Regions from separate parts of the Homo sapiens genome. Here regions 1 and 2 are each linked to region 3. The links are contacts of gene promoters, found by promoter capture Hi-C in blood cells and fetal thymus (Javierre and others, 2016). All regions are on one chromosome and are shown on one strand. Each heading gives the region's core, a stretch centred on a gene start or on the middle of the fragment in contact. The rest is flanking DNA. Distances are from core to core; before and after follow the strand shown.

What was found. Contacts are between HindIII fragments. The CHiCAGO score rates a contact against its expected background, and 5 or more counts as called.
Region 1: a contact is called between a fragment that was not itself captured here and the fragment with the promoter of EIF1AX-AS1 in region 3, in 1 of 17 cell types (neutrophils). The highest score is 5.1, in neutrophils.
Region 2: a fragment that was not itself captured here is called in contact with the fragment with the promoter of EIF1AX-AS1 in region 3 in 1 of 17 cell types (neutrophils); the score reaches 6.0 in neutrophils.

The regions. Positions count from the first base shown.
Region 1 is chrX:18,433,139-18,436,674 of GRCh38, reverse strand. All of the region lies in intron 1 of CDKL5 (cyclin dependent kinase like 5), which reads right to left. Among named protein-coding and RNA genes, the nearest start is that of CDKL5, 9.3 kb to the right of the region's middle. The HindIII fragment of the contact is 8,731 bases long and covers 1-3,536 here.
Region 2 is chrX:18,998,730-19,002,276 of GRCh38, reverse strand. ADGRG2 (adhesion G protein-coupled receptor G2) reads left to right here. Exons shown (of 29, transcript NM_001079858.3): 25 at 2,317-2,416; 26 at 2,998-3,281. All of the region lies in intron 2 of LOC101928415 (a long non-coding RNA gene), which reads right to left. Among named protein-coding and RNA genes, the nearest start is that of PHKA2, 16 kb to the right of the region's middle. The HindIII fragment of the contact is 3,844 bases long and covers 1-3,288 here.
Region 3 is chrX:20,138,291-20,141,845 of GRCh38, reverse strand. EIF1AX-AS1 (EIF1AX antisense RNA 1) reads right to left here and starts at 1,878. Exons shown (of 2, transcript NR_046592.2): 1 at 1,611-1,878; 2 at 1,402-1,511. It overlaps EIF1AX (eukaryotic translation initiation factor 1A X-linked), which reads left to right and starts at 8. Exons shown (of 7, transcript NM_001412.4): 1 at 8-221; 2 at 3,224-3,307. The coding sequence starts at 206. RefSeq lists enhancers at 7-276, 607-766. The HindIII fragment of the contact is 4,524 bases long and covers 1-2,302 here.

The DNA.
Region 1 (3,536 bases), core at 243-2,742, 1.7 Mb after region 3:
GCCTGCCTCAGCCTCCCAAAGTGCTGGGATTACAGGTGTGAGCCACCATGCCCAGCCCTCTTTCAGTTCTTTAAAAGGTTCTGTTGTGCAAAAACCCCAGCTCTCTCACCTTGCCTCATCACATTTGCACCTTCTGTCTGGAAAACTTATTTCCCCAACTAGACCAGGTCCTTCTCATTCTTCGGGTCTCACTTAAATGTTACTTCCTCAGAGCGACCTTCCCACCTCTTCCCCCAAGGACAGACTCTCCAACCCTACCCTGTTACATACAGTTGACCCTTGAACAACACAGGTTTGAACTGCATGGATCTACTTATACCCAGATTTTTTTTCAATATAAATTACACTGAGTGTGCCTCCCTCTCCTGCCTCCCCTTCCACCTTCTCTACCTCTTCCACCTCTGCCCCTGCTGAGACAGCAAGACAACCCCTCCCTCTTCCTCCTCAGCCTACTCAATGTGAAGACGATGAGCACATTTATAATGATCCACTTCCTCTTAATGAATAGTAAGTATCTTTTCTCTTCCTATGATTTTAATAACATTTTCTTCTCTGGCTTACTTTACTGTAGGAATATACTACATAATACATATAACATACAAAACAATGTGTTAATTGACTATTTATATTACCAATAAGGCTTCCAGTCAACAGTAGGCCATTTTAGTAGTTAAGTTTTTGGGGGGGTCAAAAGTTATACTTGGATTTTTGACTGCGTGAGGGTCAGCACCCTAACCCCTACCTTGTTCAAGGGTCAAGTACACTCCCATAGTGTTCTGCAGTTCTCCTCTGCCTCCATCTCAAGACTAAATTCTTTGGCCGGCTCACACCTGTAATCATGGCACTTTGGGAGGCCAAGGTGGGTGGATCTCTTGAGGTCAGGAGTTCGAAATCAGCCTGGCCAACATAGTGAAACCCCGTCTCTACTGAAAATACAAAAATTAGCCAGGTGTGGAGGCACGCACCTGTAGTCCCAGCTACTTGGGAGGCTGAAGCACAAAAATCGCTTGAACCCAAGAGGCGGAGGTGGCAGTGAGCCAAGATCGCACCACTGCACTCCAGCCTGGGAGACAGAGTGAGATTCTGTCTCAAAAATTAATTAATTAATTTTTTGAGGGCAGGGCCTACTTACATTTTATCACTCCATGTAGTCTCCAGCAAAGTCTGGCACACAATACAGAATCATTAAGTAATATTTGTTAAATGAATGAAGGACAGATCCTCAGGATGTAGGACAGGTTATTTGAGAAATAAATAATTGATAAAGTATAAAATAATTATTTGCACAAAATTAGCTTTTGTCTACCCCAACTATTTTCAGTAAGTACAATTAAAATCAAATTTTTTCTTTTCATTTGCATTGCTAAACTTGAATTTAGTGGTAATATTAGGAATAATAATTACTAGCAATTAAAGTTAATATATCCCATAAGCGGCTGACAAACCTTGGTGGGGTGTGTGTCTGAGGGTGTGGATAAATTCTAGGATATGTCACATCTGACCCAGCCTCTGGTAATCTTTGAAAGATTCTACTCATCAGGAAATTAGTTTCTAAAATCAGCAATGTCAGGGTAATCAGGTAAATCCGGGTCAGTAAGTTGTTCTTCAACTATTACTCACCACCTTTTTTTATCTGTCATATCTTCCTCATGAGACTGTATATGTTTACTTTAATTATCAAAATACAATCTCATACTTCCAAGAACCTAATCTTTAAACATAATACAAAATCTTTTTCTTCCTTTTTGAGATAGAGTCTCACTCTGTGGCCCAGGCTGGAGTACAGTGGTGCGACCTTGGCTCACTGCAACCCCTGCCTCCCAGGTTCATGGGACTCTCCCGACTCAGCCTCCTGAGTAGCTGGGATTACAGGTGCGTGCCACCACACTCAGCTAATTTTTGTATTTTTTGTAGAGAGAGGGTTTCACCTTGTTGTCCAGGCTGGTCTCGAACTCCTGACCTCAAGGGATCCGCCCACCTTGGCCTCCCAAAGTGCTGGGATTACAGGCATGAGCCACCATGCCTGGCCCATAATACAAAATACACAGTTTAAAACTGATATCTAAAATTGCAACTTACCTAAAATAACATAATCCTTTTAAACAATATATATTATTTATATATGTTTTGTTAATTTCCAGAAACCAAAGTTGTTCTTACTATCAAAATCAAGTTACACTGGCACTTCATGTTACCTATGCCTATTTCAAACCAGTTACGATTGAACTGACAGTAAAATATTAATATCAGACCAGTGCCGTGTGTCTAACCTGTTTGCCATTAAAAATCCAGACACAACCAACCACACAAGGAGTTATTGATTTACCTGCCTGGTACATATAAGGGTCACTTTCCATAGAGAAATGTTCATCTAAAAGCAAAGAAAATTAGATACATTTTCCAAAACACTTTACTTCTAACCAAACCATTACATTCCTCTCCTATATGTACCCAAAAAAATAACATCCCTAAGCAGTGTCCGTCTACCCAAGCAATACACTGAGCAAAGGAGGAAACCTGCACAAGTGGGGATCAGCCTGTGCTGATGAGACTTCCCGTTCCTAAGCTGGCCTTACTCCTCAGCCCACCCTAGAAGGTAACTAAGAAGAAAATGATGCAGGCAGGAAAAGGCAGTTACAGTACCTTGCATGTTAAGCTGTTTGCAAATCCCATCACAATCCAGTCTGAAGTAGACACAGTGTCTAAATACCTAAATTTGATGAAGCCTGCTCTACGACACGCGCATTAGGCATGGATCTGTCAAGGGGGATTAGAGGTCCAAACAACAAAATGCACAATGTCATTAGCTTAAAATCAAGAAAACCAATTGTTTCCCTGTGCTCTTACATTTGAAAGTAACTTTTTCTTGCACAATAATTACATTACTTTTACCTTCATTTATTTTCCCTGCATTCCCAACATATCACCAAGAATGTTGTATTTTATTTGCTGGTTTAAAAAAGATCAAATGAAAATAAAATTTAAGCCACAAACACAAGGTAATTTATATCATTTGCAGTTATGATCCTTTAAATTCCGCTATGTATTATGCATAGGCAAGAACTTTTGAAAATACAAAAAGCATTATGAAATGATACTGTGTGTGAAAATTTTTTTTTTTATTTAAACGGAGTCTCGCTCTTGTTGCTCAGGCTGGAGTCCAATGATGCAATCTCGGCTCACCGCAACCTCCACCTCCCCGGTTTAAGCAATTCTTCTGCCTCAGGCTCCCGAGTAGCTGGGATTATAGGCATGCGCCACCAGGCCCGGCTAATTTTGTATTTTTAGTAGAGATGGCTTCTCCATGTTGGTCAGGCTGGTCTCGAACTCCCGACCTCAGGTGATCCGCCTGCCTCGGCCTCCCAAAGTGCTAGGGATTACAGGCGTGAGCCACCAGGCCCGGCCGAGAAGTGTATTTTTTTTCTTTTCTTTTCTTTTTTTTTTTTGAGACAGGGTTTCACTCCTGTTGCCCAGGCTGGAGTGCAGTGATACGATCTTGGCTCACTGCAACCTCTGCCTCCCAAGCTCAAGCCATC
Region 2 (3,547 bases), core at 117-2,616, 1.1 Mb after region 3:
TTCTTCATTCAATTTCCCACCCAATGCAGGAGCCTCTTCAACCCTCAACTCCACCTGACTTATCCTTGACTAAAGATAATCTAACTTCTGCTTGAATACTTCTATTACTGGGGAGTTCATGACCTTACAAGGCAGCCAATAACCATTTTATAAAGCTCTACAGTTCTGATTTTCCATTAAGTTCAGTTGGCTCCCTGGTGGCACTTACCAGTGGTTTTGCTCAGGCAGAAAACAGTAAGTTGATACCTCTTCTGCCAGAGAGTCCTTTAGATAATCTACAAGTAATATATAACAGTGTGTATAATCCCCTGTTTTTCACACAAGTGACCCCATGCAAGATAAGCCAGTGAGGTGAGCCAGGCAGTCATCCCAAATGTAGGTGAAGAAACTGGCTCCAAGTGATGATGTGATATCCCCCCAATTCACAAAGCTAGAAAACAGCAAGCCTGGCTCTCCGTCTCCTTATATGCAGCCTTCTGCCATCCCCCCAACCAGACTGCCTCTATTTTCAGGCTAAATATTCCTACACATCAAGATTGAAAGCACACCACCACCCTTGCCACCCTGCCTTCTATCTTATGTCACTATGTCTTTGTGAAGAACAACAGAACAACACCCTTTCCCTGTTTGTCCCAGAAACATAAGTCAACGCTCCAGATACTGGGCACGGATTCTGTCTTCTTTAGAGAAGGCTGAAAGTCAGATTCCTTTCTTAAGTATGAGGCCCCCACCCCCAATGTTTTATTTTTAACAAAGTGTCTCACTTAGAAAATTATCATATGTCAGGGTCACCAGAAGGTACAAGCGCAAAGGCATTAAATGAACTATTAGATTTGATTTTACCAGGCACTGCAACTGGTCTGTGACAAGGAATTGTTTGTTCTTTACCAGAGCCTTGAGATAGGACGTCTGCTGGTCAGTGTGCAGAGTGTGGGGCGGTGGCATGGGGCTGGCGGGTGATGGTGTGCAGTGGTGAATAGGATTCTTTCCCCACCAAAAGCCATTTTAAACTTGGGGGACCCTTCTCATGGTACCTTCTCTGAAGGGAAGTGTCCGTGGGCTCTCAACAGAGCCAGCATAGTAGCAGTCACCACCCCCTGGATCAGCCAGGACAGAACCCTCCATCCTTCACTGGGTCTCAAAGTCTTCAAATTGAGGACTTTTGGTTTCATAATGAAAGATTTGCCAGGAGTTGCTGACTCTTAAATATACATTCCAGACATGTATAAGTTAAAGGCACAACGCTGGGTGCAGTGGCTCATGCCTGTAATCCCAGCACTTTGGGAGGCCGAGGTGGGCGGATCACCTGAGGTCAGGAGTTCGAGACCAGCCTAGCCAACATGGTGAAACCCCGTCTCTACTAAAAATACAAAAATTAGCCAGGTGTGGTGGTGCACACCTGTAATCCCAGCTACTTGGGAGGCTGAGGCACAAGAATCGCTTGAACCCGGGAGGCGGAGGCGGAGGTTGCAGTGAGCCGAGATTGTGCCACTGCACTCTAGCCTGGGTGACAGAGGGGGGCCGGGTGGGGGGTGGGGAGTTAAAGGCAACACTGGCAGCTGTAACAGATTCACCTTGAAATCTCAGTAGAAGATCATTTCTCACTCACCTACAGTCTAGTTAGCAGGGGCAGAGGAGTCCCTGGTCTTGCAGTTATTCAGGGATCCAAGCTATTGAAGACTCTGCCTCAAGGTTGCCCTAAGTTTGCAGGCAAAAAGAAAGTAGAGGATCTCACAGGAGGTTTCTATGGGGCAGGCCTGGAAGTGGAGCAAATCACTTGTGCCCGTATCCCATGGGCCCAAAGTGAGCCATGTGGCCACACACACCCAGCTGCCTGGGAGGCTGGGAGCATCCAGTCATGTGCCAAAGAGGAAAAGAAACCAGCCTGGTGAACAGCTAGCCAGTCTCTGCTACAAGATGTAAATAGGATGTGATCTCTAGTCTTGTCACCCACTTTGGTTATTAGAACTAGGTGTGACCAGCCGGGTGCGGTGGCTCACGCCTGCAATCCCAGCACTTTGGGAGACCGAGGCGGGCAGATCACGAGGTCAGGAGATCGAGACCATCCTGGCTAACATGGTGAAACCCCGTCTCTACGAAAAATACAAAACAAAAATTAGCCAGGCATGGTGGCACGCGCCTGTAATCCCAGCTACTAGGGAGGCTGAGGCAGGAGAATCACTTGAACCCAGGAGGCGGAGGTTGCAGTGAGCCGAGATCGCACCACTGCACTCCAGCCTGGGTGACAGAGCAAGAATCCGTCTCAAAAAAAAAAAAAAAAAAAATTAGGTGTGACCAATGTTTCCCATCTTCCAGGGGTACCAGCTGTGGTTGTGACCATCATCCTGACTATATCCCCAGATAACTATGGGCTTGGATCCTATGGGAAATTCCCCAATGGTTCACCGGATGACTTGTGAGTACAAAGCCCCCTAAGGGAATGCTAAGTGAACTGGAAAACGGAATGCTCCTAGAAAACGGAGGATCTAATCAGCATATTGACTCCTGCTATCATCCTAATAAAACCCAGCAATACTTCACAGCAGCCTTCACAGTCATATGTAATGAGAGAAGCTAGCTGGAAATGCCATGCTACTCTTCAAGTGATGAATTAGGAGCTATTCTGAAAAGAAAAATGAATTAGGAAGAACTATTTTGAAAATATTTTCATTAGCCTCTGATAAAATGACATTCCAGTTATATTAATAAAGACTCATAGAACAGAGTTGCTAGGATTTACAGGGGCAAAATCCTGAATGTTTAAAAAAAGGTCTATTTTTAAAATACTTTAAATCACCAAGTGTCCTCAAATAAACTCTTAGATTATTTTCCCTAGAGCTATAAATGGTTGTAGAGAATAGCAGTTTTATCATTTTTTTTCTCTTGTACTGGTAGAAAATGTTTCAGTAAAATGTTAGAGATTCATTGTATCATTTTGAACTCTAGTTCATTACTATAATATGTTTTCCCCTGTTTCCCCCCCTCCACAAACTCCAGCTGCTGGATCAACAACAATGCAGTATTCTACATTACGGTGGTGGGATATTTCTGTGTGATATTTTTGCTGAACGTCAGCATGTTCATTGTGGTCCTGGTTCAGCTCTGTCGAATTAAAAAGAAGAAGCAACTGGGAGCCCAGCGAAAAACCAGTATTCAAGACCTCAGGAGTATCGCTGGCCTTACATTTTTACTGGGAATAACTTGGGGCTTTGCCTTCTTTGCCTGGGGACCAGTTAACGTGACCTTCATGTATCTGTTTGCCATCTTTAATACCTTACAAGGTAAGCTTTACAGCATCAAATACAAACTGAATGATCCCAGTTGAATATAAAAATGTAGCTACTAAAAGAGTACAGGCATGCCTCAGAGATGTTGGGGGTTTGGTTCTAGACCACTACAATAAAGCAAATATTGCAATAAAGTGAGTCACACAAATTGTTGTTTCCCAGTGCATATAAAAGTTGTGTTTACACTAGACTATAGTCTATTAAGTGTGCAATTGCATGATGTCTAAACAAATGTACATACTTTAACTTAAAAATATTTT
Region 3 (3,555 bases), core at 629-3,128:
TCGCGGCGCCATTTGCTGCCGCCGAGCGTGGACGCAGGCGGATCTCTGAAGAGCTGGGTCGCCAGCCTCTCCCGCGCACGTTGCCTGGCCTCCAGCACCTACTTGGTCCCGCGCGCTCCCTCGTGTCGCCCCTCGGAGCAGCAGCCGCCGCGGTCGCCGCTACCCGGAAAGAAGTCAGAGACGCCGCGAGGTCGCCGCCACCGCCATGCCCAAGAATAAAGGTAATGCCGCCCGGACCCCCGGACCACGGCTCTGCTCGGCCGGGTCTCCCAGGTCCTGCCCGTAGATTGCAGGTCACCCAGGCCGCAGTGACCCTTTTTCCTTCCCGCCCTGCCTGCCCGCGGCTGGGCGCCCCACACGCGACTCTGAGCTCGGGAGAGGAGCTGGGAAGTTAACTCCTGTTGCCCAGTTTGGTCACATTGGGGTGGAGCCGGCGCCATTTTTGTAGGGCCTCCTGCGGGAGAATGTGGGCTTTTGCTCCTGATTCGCGCCAGACTGACCGCTGCTCGGTGGGGACGGTGGCGGGAACCTTCCCCGGGGCGGCCTAGGTTTAGTAGATAGGCCCCTTTGGCCTTCCCGGGCATGAGGGGTTATAATCCCTGGAAGCCGTTCTGAACTTTCAGAGTGCTGTCTGCATTCGTGAGCACCAGGTACTCCTGCATGGGTTTCTTTATGGACAGTTCAGTATTGTTGAGGCTACTCGCTGTCCCTTGTGAACAGTGGGTGAAACCTTGATACATTTCTAAGGCTCACCTCTAGAGATTTACTCTCTCCATCCCTTTACAGGATATAGCTTATGTTTGTTTGCTGAAGACTTATTCCATATTGAGCCAAGTTTTCTACTTTTGCTTCAGATGATGCATATGTTGTGAGAATAAAGACCTAATTTAAGTGTCCTCCATTCTGAGGCTAAGCGTTCACAAATGATCAGACTTGAGGATAACTTTATTTGGGATTTCCAAAACGGAAGGCCTAATCTTAAAAAAAAAAAAACAAAAACAAAAAACAGAACACTCCTAAAGAAATTACTTTTATAGATTTACAGTGTTCCTGTCATTTTTAATAGCCGTATAACTTGAAGAAAATTGTGCAAGTAAATATAGGGAAAATACTGTATTTTCCTACAGGAGAGGAGCATACTTCATAGTCCGTAAGTAGTCTCCTTTGATTATTCATTCTAGAGGAAACCCTCCCCTGACACAGGCCTACTTCTGCTCTCTTTTCTACTTGACAGCTGGCTCCAGGGATTCTACCACATTTCCTCTTTGTAGCTGTCACTTATTACTTTATCCCTTAGGGTACTTGGTCGAGGTGTTCTGTGCACAAGTTGGTGCAGTCACTGCTCATTATTTTGGAAAAGATGGAGTTATAAACAAAAAATTTTAAAGTCTTACAGTTTTCTTCTGTATAATCCTTTATTCTCTCTGAGGTGGTAAGGGGATCACTTCCATCTTATTCTCACCTTTATTTCTAGTAATAAGATTTCCAATTCTTCCACCAGGCTGTAAGCTCTACAAGGCAGGAATAGTATCTGTCTTAATCTCATTGGATTGCCAGCACTTGACAATTAGTAGATGCTTAATAAATATTTGTTGGTTTAAGTCACCTACCTCCTGTCGACTCCACCCTTAGTGAATAATAGGTTCTGCTTTGGTTCCAAGGGGATAGGACTTCTACACTAAATCACATCTAGTTCCCTAGCCTCATGTCTTAAGAAAGAGCCTCTCTGGGAATTTCTCCAAAACAACTCTGGTTTAAAGAATGTTGATGTCACTTTAATTGTTGTACACTCAGACCTAGTCTCATTCATTCAACAGAGAATTTAAAGAACATCCCATTACATGGCAATAAAATACAAAGGGGAGTGATCCGGGTATGGTTAATTCTGGTAAATTGACAAGTAATTAGTCTTTTCTTAAATAACATTTGAGGCATACAAAAAATACAGCTAACATGATATACCTGGGAACCCATTACTCTGAATTTAAGAATTACAGCGCAGATTGAGGTAAAGCCCTAATCACCTTTTACTCTCTTTTTGGAGGTAATCACCAGGCTGAGTTTGGTGTTTATCATTCCTGTACTGTCTGAAACCAATCAGTTCTTAGTTATCTTACTTAGAGGAATGGTACTTTTCATGACCTAATTTAAGTGTCCTCCATTTTTTTTTGCTGCTTCCAAGCTCTTCCCATGAGTCTCTTAGGGTCATTACCACTTACAGCCTTTTTCCTGCCTTTTGGAAATGGCTGCCAATGTGGTTTCCTTTCTGGAATGGGAGCAAAATGCTGTGGAGAGGTAAGCTTATGTGGGGGCTAGGGGCAAAAAAAACATTGTGACTTTGGTCACCCCAGCTTACTGACTGTAATCAGTGAACTGATTTACTCACTGAAGCTAAGCGACTTACTTAACTTCTCTGAGCTTCAGGGAACTCATGGGTAAACTGGGAATAAATGAATGTTATGACCTCATGGGGTGATTGTGACAAGTAAATGGGCAGAATTATTGCATAGTGGTTAAGAGCATGGTCACTGGGGTCATATAATAGAAACAGGGATGTTGAGTAGGGACCAGCATTATAAAAGAAAGTAAATTGGGTACCGAACAGATCTTCTTTATTTTTTAAGAGACAGTGTCTCGCTATGTTGCCCAGGCTAGCCTGGAACCTCCTGGGCTTGCTCAAGTGATCCTCCCACCTGAGCCTCCTGAGTAGCTGAGACCCTAGGCGCACACCACTGCACCCAGTGAGATTTCAATATTTATGGTACTCTGCTACCAAAAGTTTGAAAACCACAGTTCTCTGTCCAGACACTGTCTTCACTTAATTTTGAAAGTATCGGGTTCCTTGCATAGGGCCTGGCTTTAGAAGACACCCAAGATTTCCGCTTAGAAGAATATGTATAGAATTGCATTTTTATTTCAAAAGGATGGGTGCTAAAGTGAAATGTTTTTCTATATTTTTTAACATAATATCTGCTATTTATGTGTATTTTATGTCAGAAAAATCCCCAAAGGAAATTCCAAGAAGGGTAGGGAGGTGATAATGTGTTAATGTTGGGATTGGAGATTGTAAATTTAATATGATTGTGTAGCTAAAATAGATGAATTTTTTAATTTAAGTGATCTTTTAAAAAATGGTTTTATAAGCCTTAATTTCATTTTATTTCATACTGTTTTACAGATAATTAATGTCATTTACCTCCTTTTCTTTTTTTTAAACCATCAGGTAAAGGAGGTAAAAACAGACGCAGGGGTAAGAATGAGAATGAATCTGAAAAAAGAGAACTGGTATTCAAAGAGGATGGTCAGGGTAAGTGTTTTCATAAATTACGCTTTTTAAAATAACATCCTTTCTTTTTTAGCTGGGGACTTTATTTTTTTGAGACAGCGTCTTGCCCATCGCCCAGGGTGAAGTGTGGTGGCACGATTACAGCCCACTGCAGCCATGACCTCCTGGGCTGAAGCAGTCCTTCCACTTCAGCCTCCCGAGTATTTGGGACTACAGGCACACACCACCACGTCTGGCTAATTTTAAAAATTTTTTTAGGCTGGGCGCAG